Regions from separate parts of the Homo sapiens genome. Here region 1 is linked to region 2. Evidence: promoter capture Hi-C in 16 types of primary human blood cells and fetal thymus (Javierre and others, 2016). All regions are on one chromosome and are shown on one strand. Each heading gives the region's core, a stretch centred on a gene start or on the middle of the fragment in contact. The rest is flanking DNA. Distances are from core to core; before and after follow the strand shown. Region 1 has its middle 130 kb from the start of TMEM161B. Region 2 holds the start of NR2F1-AS1 (NR2F1 regulatory antisense RNA 1).

Region 1 (6,164 bases), core at 2,888-5,387, 5.4 Mb before region 2:
ACAAATTGTTATTGAATTTATTTTTTAATAATCATTTGAATGGATTGTCTTAACAGATGAACCTGTAGGCATTGATGACCACATTTTAAAAATGATATTAGAGTAAATACAGAATATTCAGTCTTTTAAAAATGTTAACCACTTGGGATGTCTGTTGACATTTTGCAAAGCAAACCATAAATGTACTTAAACCGATGAGTAAAACATTAAAATTAAAAATCAGCCCATCTTTTCTCCGAGTACCTTTTTCAAATGGCACAGAGAACTTTACACAAGCTCCAGGCACCTCTATATTTAATTCCTAGGGGCAATGGTATTCATCAGTGCATTAAGCAGCCTGGTCAGGTACTGCTGAGTCAACCTCGTTCTGGGACTCTCCTTGCTTGTGAATGCAACATGCAGGCCTTGAGATGTCATTATTCCGACGTTATGATAAGGCACTCACTTATGCTGCTTTACAGGAGAAAGAACCAGAGTTTAAAAGCCATAGCCACCGATTTATATTATGCTACTGTAACACTCTTGAACAGAATCTCATTTTAAAAGACAGTGCCTGCAAGAGAAAATCTTCACTGGCTTAATCCATGATTATGAATTTGGTGGTCATTTGAAAGGTGTCTCTTCTTTTTTTTTTTCTGTTATTTTGTTTTACCATCAATAGTTTAATTTTCATTAGAAATCACAGTCTTGGTACTAAGTCAGCACCAATTTATTTGTAGCACAAAGCGCAAAGGTGATCTTCTTTTTTTTTGTTTGCTTGTTGTTTGTTTGTTTTTTTTTTGAGACGGAGTCTCACTCTGTTGCCCAGGCTGAAGTGCAGTGGCACAATTTCAGCTCACTGCAAGCTCTGCCTCCCGGGTTCAGGCCATTCTCCTGCCTCAGCCTCCTAAGTAGCTGGGATTACTGGCGCCCACCACCACACCTGGTTAATTTTTTTGTATTTTTAGTAGAGACAGGGTTTCACCATGTTAGCCAGGATGGTCTCAATCTCCTGACCTTGTGATCTGCCCGCCTCAGCCTCCCAAAGTGCTGGGATTACAGGTGTGAGCCACCGCACCCGGACAGTGATTTTCTTTTAATGGAAGAACTACTGTTAAGTCACTGGACTGATGAGCTTCACAGGGCCAACACTTCTTAGCTTGGACATGTTTACTAAACAAGTTAAGAGTGCATGCTCTAAATTACCTTGTTTGAATAGGGGCTGTAAATTAGGTTATTGTGAGGAAATGACCACTTTCTCAAAATCTTCAAAGTGCACCAGGAAACATGAAGCTTGGGTGTGTTATAATTAATTGGGAAAATGGTGGATGCCTCAATCATTGCAATTTGGCATGACTAATGAAAGAGTTCTATCACAGCAAAGTCTAGGGTTCATAAAGTGCTTCTTGCCGGGGGAATCTTAAATCATAAATAGCAACATGTTTAGTCCTCTGCCCTTTTATAAGAGATAAAATTGTGGTACAAATAAAGTAGGCTTTTTTCCAAGGTGGCACAGAACTTAACAAAGTGAAAATGTGGCATTTACATTCCTTGATTTATAACCTTTATAACGTTTACTTAAGAATGTATCCAAAGGAAATTCCTATTGTTTATTTTACCATTTGTTTAGTTGAATTGTTAATTAAAACTTTTTTCCAGTATCATTTGCCAGAGGGTGATGCTGATTATAAGAACTAAAACTAGGGATGACATGCACTCTCACATGTAGCAACTGGATACAATTTTAAGTTCAAAACACAGCCTATTCTAGCAAGAAGACTAGGATTAGACAATAGCACCCCTTGCATCCCAATACTGCCATCAGTCTTTACAGTTGGGATTGTCCTTTCTTGACTCTGAACCACACCCAAAAGGTCATCAATCTGTGAATGTTTATTTACACTTCTCCTTACCATCTTGCACGTTATTGACTCTTACAGCTGCCTTTGAAAGAGAGCTTTCAAATAGCCATGAGGAACTAGAGGTTTTTTAAATAAATAAATAAATAAGGCTCCAAATATCAACAAACAGTTGATATTTGACTTTGGAATTCAAGGGATACATTAATAAGTGCTTATGTACCCACAGGCTTCCTTACTCTGTGCCTGAACTCAGCACCCAATCTATGTACCCTAGCTATCAGCTTTTCAGGGTCCTGATGAGAAACAAACAAGAGGAAATCAAACACTTGAGTGTTGACAGTACAGTCCAGAATCTGGAATTACTGTGACTCCTTACAAGTGCTCAGAACTCCTTAATTGGTTATGTGAATTTGTCATCCTCTATCAAATGTATGGGGATACTGCCTGCAAGTAAACCTCCACTCAGACCTCAGAAAGCAAAGGTCAATCTTTCAAGGAGAATTTAGGAAATATTTAGAAACAAAGAATAATTCCACACTAGGAAAGTCATAGGTGCTCAAACAGTAAGAAATTTAAATCCTCCACTACATATATGTAAGTTCACACATGCTGGTCATCAGCTGGCATCTTTAGTGAGTATCTTCTATTGAACTCACTACAAGTAAGTAAGCTGAAGGGCAATTTCTGAAATACTGTGAACATGTGTGTTTTTCTATATAGTTGGCTGGGTAGGTTCTTACCTAGCTCTACACAGTATTTAACACCAGATTATAGATTAGCCTCTCAGGGGAAATAATGGTACACACTTATTATATGTAATATAATAGCCATTCACAGAAGATCCCCATTATACATGACAGCAATGAACCCAGTCCCTGGAATTAAGAAACTGTACATCAGGGCTGGGTGTGGTGGCTCACACCTGTAATCCCAGCACTTTGGGAGGCTGAGGCGGGCAGATCACAAGGTCAGGAGATCGAGACCATCCTGGCTAACATGGTGAAACCCCGTCTCTACTAAAAATACAAAAAATTAGCCGGGCTTAGTGGCAGGCACCTGTAGTCCCAGCTACTCAGGAGGCTGAGGCAGGAGAATGGCGTGAACCCAGGAGGCAGAATTTGCAGTGAGCCAAGATCGCACCAGTGCACTCCAGCCTGGGCGACAGAGCGAGACTCCATCTCAAAAAAATAAAATAAAAAAATTAAAAAAAAACTGTACATCAGAAACAACTCAAATGGCCTTCAACAACTTTTAAAAGGATAAACCATCTGTGGTACGTTCATGCAATGAAATACTACTCAGCAATCAAAAAGAGCAAACTGTTGATACACCCAACAACACAGATGAAGATCAAATCCATTATGCTAGTAAAAAGAAGCCACACAGAAGAAAGCTACATACTGTATGATTCTATTTATATGACATTCTGTAAAAGGCAAAACTACAGGAATGGAAAACAGATCAGTGGTTTCCAGGGTTACAGGATATTGGGAGGGATTGACTGCAAAGGGCAGCACAAAGAAGTTTTGGGGGATGATGAAATTCTGTTTCTTGCTTGTGGTCGTGATTACATTACACACTGGTAAAACTCAAAGAATTTATATCCCTGAAAAAGTGAATTGTACTGTATTTAACCTAAATATCAAAAGTTCAAAAGCTTCACATAGTTTATATTTCTCATTCTCATGTATTCAAGAAGAAGAATTGTCTTTCAAATATTCCTACTAAACTCCTGCTTATCACTTTCAAGAACTTAGCTTCAAAGTTAGCTCTTCTGTAAAGCCTTCCCATACCTCTCTATGTTCTGGCTTCTTTCTAAGATTTTTTTAAGGAAATAAACATTACTCATATAGCCAATATCCATGTGGATAAAGGCTCCTTCTCTTCCAGGGGTCTCCCCCATGCTGGAGTTCGCACGCATTCTTCCCCAACATGCTTTTATACTTTTATTACATAGTTACGTACCAACAAATTGTTATGGGAAGGATAATTTTACGTTAATAGATATTAATATTGCATCAATATCACATTTTTTTTGAGACGGAGTCTTGCTCTGTTGCCCCGGCTAGAATGCAGCGATCTCGGCTAACTGCAACCTCCGCCTCCAGGGTTCAAGCAATTCTCCTGCCTCAGCCTCCCGAGTAACTGGGATTATAGGCGCCTGCCACCGCCCCTGGCTAACTTTTGTACTTTTAGTAGAGACGGGTTTCACCATCTTGGCCAGGCTGGTCTCGAATTCCTGACCTCGTAATCCACCCTCCTCGGCCTCCCAAAGTGCTGGGATTACAGGCGTGAGTCACCGCGCCCGGCCAATATCACATGTATTCTTTTGCAATTTGCTTTTTTTCATCCAACATTGCTTTTAAGATAGTCAATTCATAAAGAGTATTTCACTGTAGGGATATGCCAATACATTAATTCACTGCACTTTTGACAGATATTTAAGCTGTTTCCATGCTCCATGTTACACTGTGCCATATTTATCTGTTATTATATCTCTTCTTCTTGCAAGACAATGAGCAATTCCAGAACAGAAAGCATCCAGAATTCCTATCCCTTTCCCTAATTTCCGGTACACCTGCAAATCACTGCCTGCGTAATGTGTTTCGCATGGAAAAAGATGCTGTGTACCTGGCACACAATAAGCACCACTCCATAAAAATGTGTTGAAAGAATAAAAGCTGACAAAATGTTATTTTAAATCTTGCGGTCTCTACTCACTTCTCTGCGGTGTAAGATTTAAGGGGGAACTGACTCAATTCTCACTAAAAAGTCCCTTAGTATTCCAATGTGGACGTAGAGAGATCTATGAAACAAGGTCACTTCACAATTCTCTTGCTTTCGCGTTAGAGGATCTCAAAGCACTACACAAACCGCGATTTTCTCCAGTGATTTTTCCTCTCAATGTGCCTCAAGGTCAGTTCAGAGCAGTATTCAAAGCTTGAATACTCTTCACCAGCAGCTGTAAAGGGCCGGAAAACCAGAGTCTGGATGTAAATAACAGTAACAAACTATTCCCGGATCTTGTTTTTTCTTTTCTTTTCATGGGTCCCCGTTTGCGCTCTTAGTCGGCTTACCCGTCCTGTTCCAGGAGCCGACAGGGAACAGCCCACCTGGAGCAGGTCTTGGGCCACCACTCGCCCCGCCCCCCGTCTCTACTCCTCACTCGCTCTCCCCGCTCCTATTAAGCAGCCAACGCTGGGTGATCTCCTCTCCAGTTCTTCGTGGTTTCATTGTAGCCTTGATATACAAGACAAATGCACACTTTACTCTGGGCTTAAAAAACCATCTATCATCATCCTTTGGGCATGACAAATACATTGTGTGTTTCAGAGAAATTAATCTGGTATTTAGGGGGAGAAAGGCATTTCCAACCAGTCTCCGTGCAGAACCTTCCCGCAAACCCTGTAGCGGCATTTTTCGACACTTTTCTCCTCCTTTCGGCAAGCCTCAAACTTGACCTTCGAGAGGATTTTAAGGGTAGAGCCTTCCTCCCTTTCCCTCGTCTGCTCCAAGAGCTCACGTAGGCCTTCTTCTGGGAAACAGCGGCTCAGGACCAGAGCTCGGAGAACTGCGCGTCCAGGAGCGCGGGCGCGGCCGGGGAAAAGGGAGGAGGCGGCAGGAGGGGGCAGGAGGTGGAGGGAGGAGGAGGATCGGTCTGAATATGCATGAGGCACCCAGCACTGCCCTCTTCCCCGGCAGCTGCTCGGGCGGGGGCGAAGGAGGGAAGGGGAGGGGAGGGGAGGAAATGAGGCTGGGGCGGGGTGGCCAGAGCAGCCGCAGAGGCTGACGCGGGTTTGGAGAACGGAAGAGATGATTTGCATGGCGCCTGGTGATTGGCTGATGGCCGGGGGCTGGGTCTGAGAGGCGGCCCCTGAATGGTTTAACGGAGGAAATTACAAGATTCATTCGACTAAAGAAAGCCGGGGCGGGCCTGGTCGGCGCAATATGCAGCCTGTCCGCAAGGGGGCGCGATGGCCTATCTTTGTTCTGGTTAAAGGCTCCTTTTCCCTCCTCCCCCGCCCCCGCCTCCGCCCCCGCCCCCGCCCCCACCCCCCACACACAGACACACACGCAGAAAGTGCAGAGAAACCCTGTGATCCAGTCAACTGGCTCTGCCCCATCTATTAAGAAAGATGAACACTCCTTTCTCTTCCATCTCCTTCATGGGAGACCACTTTTCATTTCAGATTATCACATCAATAAATATTCTTCGAGGAATAAAAAAGGCACTTTGCCAAAAGATAAGAGAATATATATGCAATGTCTGGATTGTGGAGAAAGACAATACATGAAGGCAAGAGAATAGGCACATATATGTAA
Region 2 (7,081 bases), core at 2,405-4,904:
TTTTGTGTTTTAGTAATCACAAAACATTAGATGGGCATTCCTGCACCTCTCTCCACCCTTTCTTCCAAAAGATCTGTGTGAGACCATTTTAAATACATCTTCAACTATGTCCTTCCTGGCTTTAATCTCATGCCAGGGGAGACTAATTGATTCAGCACCTTTCAAATAAGCTCTTTGGGAAAGGTCTGCAGCAAGATCAGAGGCACTGACCTTTTTCTCAATGATTGCAGGCATGTTCATCTCTCCAGATGGGCTCGATAAAACGGGGTTAGTTCTGTTCTGTGGTCTTGCTAAACAGAATAATACCATTTTTAACGATTTTGAGGTAGGGAAGAGGTATAAAAGAGAATTTCCTACACATATCTGATCATTTGTAGGGTCCCATGGCTCTTGAACTAGATTTAGAAAATGTTTTTACAAGGCCACTTTTGTTCAGTGTGACTTACCAAAAAGCTAAAATGAATGACTTTCGGGAGACCAAGATATCAATATCAAAAAAAGCCCATAGAATTAGTGAAAAATGGTTCAGCCTCGTGGTAAGAAAGATATGGAGGGAGAGGATATGTTAACAGACAGACAGTCCGCTTAGATCCGGATTCTGGGGCCTGGAACGCAAGTCAACCCTGAATGTGCAGCCAAACCGATCTGTGCTTCTCTTCCTCTCTCACCAGATCACAATTTACTGGGTGGCAAGCTGGGAGAGATCAAGCTTTGTCTGGTATGTCTTTTAAAACGTGATTAACGCTGAGCTTGATGCTAGCAGCCCGCAAGGGGTACTATAGGCTTACAGCCTAATTCCTTTCCCCAAGCGGAGCGGTACCTTCTCATCGCCTTTTTGGGGAACTACACTAAAGATCTAGTGTGCACTGAACAGGTCTGTGGGAACCAGGAAGGCAGAGGAAGGAAGGGAGGCTCCCGGGAGCCCAGGCCCCGGCAAGGCCCTTACAGTTCCCAGACCCGCCAAACCGAAAGAGAGACCCTGGAGAGGGCTGAGCCCCTGTGGGCCTGGCTGGAGGCCTCGGGTAGGATGCTGAGGCAAGAGCCACAGCGGTCCGAGTCCAAGAACCACGTCCAGACTCAGCTTAAGGTTCCGAGGTGAAAGGCCTGGCCTAGAAGGGAGGGAGAGAGATCTGAAGAAGAGGGGGTGGGTGAAAGAAACGTGGACACTACAACTGCGTTTTCTGCTCCTGCAGCTGAGCGTGCCTGGACAAGTATGTAGGATTTCCCAATTGGGGGATCTAAGTACTCTCGAAAACTATGATCAGTTTTCTATTAGGTACCCTACCCCACAACAACAGATATCATTATTTCCTGGTTGAGTGTGGGTCGCATTAGGCCCAGGACAAGTGTGCCAATTGGGACCAGTATCAAAAGAGAGCCTTGAAGAAAGAAAGAAAGGGCTTCCCAGGAACTAAGCTGACCTCTCAGTGCCTCTAGGGAAGACATTTTTGCTGGAGGCAGGGCTATGAGCACAAGTGGGGCGCCCTGTGGGTGTGCAACCGCGGTCGGGGAGCACAGGCTTCCGAAGAGAAACTGAGCTCTAAGTGCCACTCAGGCCGGACGAGTTCCAGAGGGGGACAGCGCCCTCCTCGAAAAGCCTTGGTTTCTCCCCGCCCCCTCTTGTGACAGAAAGTTGGCAAGGATGCCCCGTAGGAGTGCGAGCCGCTCCCCTCCTCCGAAAAGCCGCGGGCTTCCGCTGCTCCGGGCATCACCACCAACAGCTTCCCACTCCCACCCCTGGGACTAGGACAGGGGACTTCACCCTCCTCCTTCCTTCCGGAGGAGCCCGCGGCTTCGCCTGAGGCCTCGCGGGCCCAACTTCTCCCCACCGCTAGGGTCACGCCGGGTCCCAGGGGCCTCTTTCAAGTTTGAAAGCTCTGTGGGGGCACGGAGAGCCCACAGTAAGGATGGGTGGGCGCCTCTGCTCCCGGGCAGGCTCAGCTGTCATCCCGTCTCGCCTTGGCCCTCACCTACAGGGCCTGACCCCGGGCCAGCCCAGCTAGGCAAGGCCTCCTCGCTTCCGAGACCCCCCAGCCCCCGGGTGCAGTCCCCAGCATCGGCTGCCCCCGCCCCCCGCGCGCCCTCTGACGCAAACGCACGCCCCTGCCCCGCACGGAGGAAAGCGCTCTTGTTGGTTTTAATTGAGCCTCTTCCTTTCAACACACCCCCTCTGTCCCCACCCCTGGGAGGCGACCCCCTCCCCGCCCCCAGCCGGCTGGCAGCGGCGCAGGGAGTCTGGCTCGGCTGCTAGGCTGCGAATCCCGGTGCTCTCTCGCCGCCGCCGCAGGTTGTCTGCTCGGGAGAGCGGCTCGATGTCCCTTTTAATCCGCTGACACTATCGCCCACATCAGACAGGCAGCCATCGATCGCGTTACATTAGGGGATGGCGTTACAAACGGCGTCCGCAGGTGGGCGGCTGCAGCCAAGCTCGCCAGGTTCAGGCCGTAACCAGGCAAGGCGCGGGCACAAGGGCCAGCCGGGCCGGACTCTGCAGCCGGCTCCACCGCGGGTCGCGCTCGGCACCAGCAGGAACAGCCGGGCCGGTGTTAAACGTGCGGGTCCCCGTCCTCCGCCCGGGCATCCGTTTCCCGCCTAGGAGAGAGAGGGAATAGCGGGTGGGGGTGGGAGCAGCCTGTTTTGAATGTGGATTGCTGCTCGCCTGGCACGATCCTCCCCTCCAAGGAGGCGCGGCGGCCGCGATCCTCGCCTTAGCGCTACGGCGAGACAGAGGCCGAGCGAGGGCAACTCCCGAGCAGGCCCCGAAGAAAGTTCTCCTCGTCCCGCCCTGGCTGCCTAGACTCTGCTCTCGGCCTGCGGAGGCCGTGCGAGCCAAGACTGCCTCCCGGCCCTGCCCGTTACCAACCCCAAGTTCAAGAGAAACGACAACCATTATGTTACTTGCCTGGTGAGGCAGGATTTGGCCGAGTCTCGTTTCTGGTGCCCACGACGCACGGTCCAGGGTCCGAGGGCGGCTGGGCCGGCGGACTGGGCATCCAGTGTGCCTGCGGTGCCCTGGCGCTCGCTGTCGCTGGTCTCCCACTCCCTTCGTCTCTCTCCGCGTTCTCCTTCCCTCGCCCTATCTCCCTCTCTCCGCCTGCTGCCTCTGCCCTCGACTCCCTGCCTCTGACTGTATGGGGAGTACGATTTAGAATCTGTACATAGAAAGGTTTTCTTTTCTTTCTTTTCTTTTGGTCTATTTTAATCGTGTTCGTTTCACCTTTTAACTGACCAGAAGACGGGAGCGCGTTTGCGCGTTTATTTGGGCATAGGGACGAGGGCAAGGAGCCCCTGCTACCCCCAGTCGCCTCCTCGCCATCAGCTGCGTACAATGGGCCACCGCTCGCGGAGTGCATTGACAGTTCTCCATTATTCGAGCTGGAGGGGCTGTGGGGCAGGCACGGGAAAACCTTTTATTCTGCTCTTTAAAATCATCGCTCGTCACTAAGCGGTCGCCGACTCCCGACTTGTAGGCTGGAGAGACCAGGAAGCGCAAAACGTCCCCCAAACACGCAGTGCTTCCCAAACCCCTCCCTGGTGAGACTTAAAGTGAGAACGAGTATTAAAAAACAAACCCTACCTCTGTCAATACAGCGTGGCCATTTACTTCCACCTTTACCTGAGGGCGTGTTGGCGCTAGGAATGCTCGAGCTGAGACAAACTTTTACGCCCTCGCGAGTCGAGGGGCGGGCGGGCGAGCGCGGCTCCCACCCCCGGCGGCGGCAGCGGCGGCTTTGTCACTCCGCGCGGCTCCGCGCCCGCCTGAGCCTGCCTAGGGGAGCGATCTCAAAACGAGGGGGGTGCGAGTATGCGATTGGAGAATATGTAACTAATAGAAGTATCATTTTCCCCCAGTACGATCTTTCAAGGAAAAAAAAATCCATTGAAAGAATTTTCAAAGTGCTGTCTTCGTTTGGAGAAAAGGCACAGGCTGCCTGCGGGGAGGGGAGGAGGGACTCGGCTGTGTGCCGCCCGGGAGCGGCTCCCGTCCGCTAGGTGGCAGCCGGAGCCAGCGATTCCTGCAAGCCCCGCCGCGGGACCCGCTCCTCCCGCCTGCCCCTCCTCCCGCGACCAATCACCTTCAGGATTCAGGAATCGGGGTCTCGGTCTCTCTCTCTCTCTCTCTCTCTCTCTCTCTCTCTCTCTCTCTCTCTCTCTCTCTCTCTCTCTCTCCCCCTCTCCCTCTCCCTCTCCCTCTCCTCTCTCCCTCTCCCTCTCCCTCTCCCTCTCCCTCTCCCTCTCCCTCTCCCTCTCGTCTCTCTCTCTCTCTCTCTCCTCTCTCTCTCTCTCTCCTCTCTCTCTCTCTCCTCTCTCCTCTCTCTCTCGGTCTCTCTCTCTCTCTCTGGGTCTCTCTCTCTCTCTCTCTCTCTGGGTCTCTCTCTCTCTCCTCTCTCTCTGGGTCTCTCTCTCTCTCCTCTCTCTCTCTCTCCCCTCTCCTCTCTTCTCTCTCTCTCTCTCTCAATATCTCGCGCGCTCTCCTCTCTCCTCTCTTTCCTTTCCTCTCCTCTCTCTCTGTCTCTCTCTCTCCTCCTCCCCCTTTTCTCTCTCCCTCTCCGCCTCCCCCCCTCTCCATCTTCTCGTTTGTTTGCTCTTTTCCCGGGACTGACTTGGCCACACTAATCTCCCCCCACCCTGCAACAATATGGGGACTTACTACTGTTTTATTAATAATGATTGAAGCATTGTTGGAGTTTGGAACAGCCAGGTGATAAAAAAAAAAAAAAAGAAGAAGGAAAAATTGGATTGATTGGAAAGTTTATTTTTAAAATCATCTTTGGGATAAATAGGAACCCTTGATTCCGATCGAATTTGTGGCAATAGCTGCAAATTCCAGGAGTGTGCTTTGTCATCATTAAACCTTTTAAACCAAGGTATACTTTGGATTAAAAAATAGGGAGATCCTACCCTGTTTCTACTTGTTTCTAAAAAGGATATAAAATGAGCAGAATCCAGACTTGGATTGTGCTTATATGTGAGAGAAGAAAACAATCCAAATCCAGTATATTTCACAAATCATTAAAATGGTGGGGGTTTCATTCCCATTAAAAATTTTTCCAAACATTTTCAATGACACTCTCTTCACGCTCATAAAATCTAATTTTAAAAACTTTTCAGAAGAAATCAAAATAATTTCCCTCTAATTCTCCTTTTGCCCATCGCTAGGCGTTCTCCCCCTCGTCATCCCTTCCCCCTCTGGGGTGTGAGCGTAAGTGTGTGTGTGTGTATGTGTGTGTGTGTGTGACCATAGACGACCCATACTAATCAGGTCTCAGAGTAAATAGCAGCGCAGGGCGATCTCAATGTAAATTGCGCTTGTCAGAAACACACCCCCCTCCCTCACTTTCTCTCCTCCTCCCCACACCATCCCAGTCTGTAGGTAGCTAAGCGGGGGGGGGAGAAAGAAAGCAAAAGAGGAGGGGGGAGGGGCTCTCCAACCAATGGCGTGCAGGAGGCTTGGCTAACCTTAGCCTCCCATTTTCTCTCCCCCCGATTCAGGGCTCTGACCAGTCAGTCGCCTTTGATTATCAGTTGCCAGCAGCCCTTCTCTTGGCTCCTTGACACGAGCTCCATATAAGGCAGCGATCTCCATAGAAACGTGTCAGTTTCAATAGTAGTGTCAAAGTTCACTATATACAGACATTCGCGCAGATCCCCCTTTCGGAAACATTGCTCTGCGAGTCCTCCCGTTTAAACGCATTCAATTTTTGGGTCTCTCTCTCTCTCTCTCTCTCTCTTCTTCTCTTCTCTCTCTCTCTCTCTCTCCTCTCTCTCTCTCCTCTTTCTCCCCCCTCTCTCCCTCCTCTCCTCTCTCTCTCCTCTCTTCTCTGAACCTCTCTTCTCTTTCTCTTTTCTTACATATTCTACTAGTTGTTTTCCCCTTCTTCTTCTCCTTTCTCTCCTTTTTCTCCCTCCTCCTTGTCTCTTTTACTCCATTCCTGCAGAAGAGAGAGGGCTAAACTTAAAGAAAAAAAAAAGGAGGAGGAGGAGGAGGAGGCACCCCCTTCGTATTCTTCTTATCGTTATTTTATACATATATGATTTTTTTTGGAGGGAGGGTGTTGGTTGCCGGCTGAAGAGCACTTATTTAAAATACTAAAAAAAGAACATTTTTGGGCGATCTCCAGGGTTTTTTTAACTAGCTCTGTGTGTTATAGCAGAAGAAGCAGAAGAAGGAGCAAGAAAGAGGAAAAGAAGAGGATTATTTATTCGACCTACTTTGGATGTCTCTCTCGCTTTTCCTTTTTCCTTTTTTTGGCAATTATTTTCTTCTGATTTTTATTTTTTCTATTTCGCTGTGATTTCGTCGCCGGCGTGAATTATCCCGTATTTTTCTCCCCCTTCCGTCACCTCCCGAAAGAAGAAGGCAGCGAGAGCCCGGCGCCACCGGCACAACAAAAAGAGCAAAGTGTGTGATCTTCCTCGCCGGCTGCCTCCCGCTCTCCAGCGCTGCCTTCCTGAATGGCTGGCTGCGTCCGGCCCTGGACCTGGCCCCCCGACACCCGCGCGCCCTGATCGCCGGCGGCAGCCTCGCCCAGCGCCCTGCTCGGCTCACCGCGCTCCCCGCACTCCCGAGCCCGGCGAGGGCTCCCGCCGGGACAGCGGCGGCGCCGCGGGCGGCCCCGGCCTCCGCTCGCGCTCCGGCTGCGGCCCCGACTCCTGCTCGGACTCCGGCCCGGGTCCCGGCTCCTCCAGCGGCGCTCGCCGCAGCAGCTCCGGCGGCAGCTCCAGCGGCGCCTGCAGCCGCGACCTCCTCCTCCTCCGCCGCCGCCGCCGCCTCCGCCCTCGCCGGCTTCCTCTATGTCGGCTCAGCCCGCGCGCTGCGCGTAGCCCGAGCGGCCGGCGGGCGGGCGCCCGGCGCGGGTGAGCGACTGTGTGTGCGAGTGTGTGTGTGCGCGGGGGTGCGGGCGAGGCGGAGGGCGAGTGTGTGCGCGCGCCGTGGCCCATGCCCGCCGCCCCCGGCGCTGCGCCCCGCGCCGCTCCCGGCTGCCGCCTGTGCCATTTCTGATTTTGCAACTTGGGGAAGAAGAAAAAAGCGAGAGAAGGGAGCTTGCTCGCCGGGGGGTGGGGAGGGGGGAAGGAGAGC

What was found. The method cuts DNA at HindIII sites, captures the fragments that hold promoters and counts their contacts. A CHiCAGO score of 5 or more calls a contact.
Region 1: a fragment that was not itself captured here is called in contact with the fragment with the promoter of NR2F1-AS1 in region 2 in 1 of 17 cell types (total B cells); the score reaches 7.9 in total B cells.

What each region holds. Positions count from the first base shown.
Region 1 is chr5:88,135,874-88,142,037 of GRCh38, forward strand. No RefSeq gene overlaps it. Among named protein-coding and RNA genes, the nearest start is that of TMEM161B, 130 kb to the right of the region's middle. RefSeq lists an enhancer at 5,202-5,703 and a silencer at 5,566-5,615. The HindIII fragment of the contact is 1,283 bases long and covers 3,497-4,779 here.
Region 2 is chr5:93,577,565-93,584,645 of GRCh38, forward strand. It overlaps NR2F1-AS1 (NR2F1 regulatory antisense RNA 1), which reads right to left and starts at 3,655. Exons shown (of 8, transcript NR_186187.1): 1 at 3,578-3,655. NR2F1 (nuclear receptor subfamily 2 group F member 1) reads left to right here and starts at 5,658. Exons shown (of 3, transcript NM_005654.6): 1 at 5,658-7,081. RefSeq lists an enhancer at 3,831-3,930 and silencers at 4,051-4,100, 6,708-6,787. The HindIII fragment of the contact is 7,751 bases long and covers 708-7,081 here.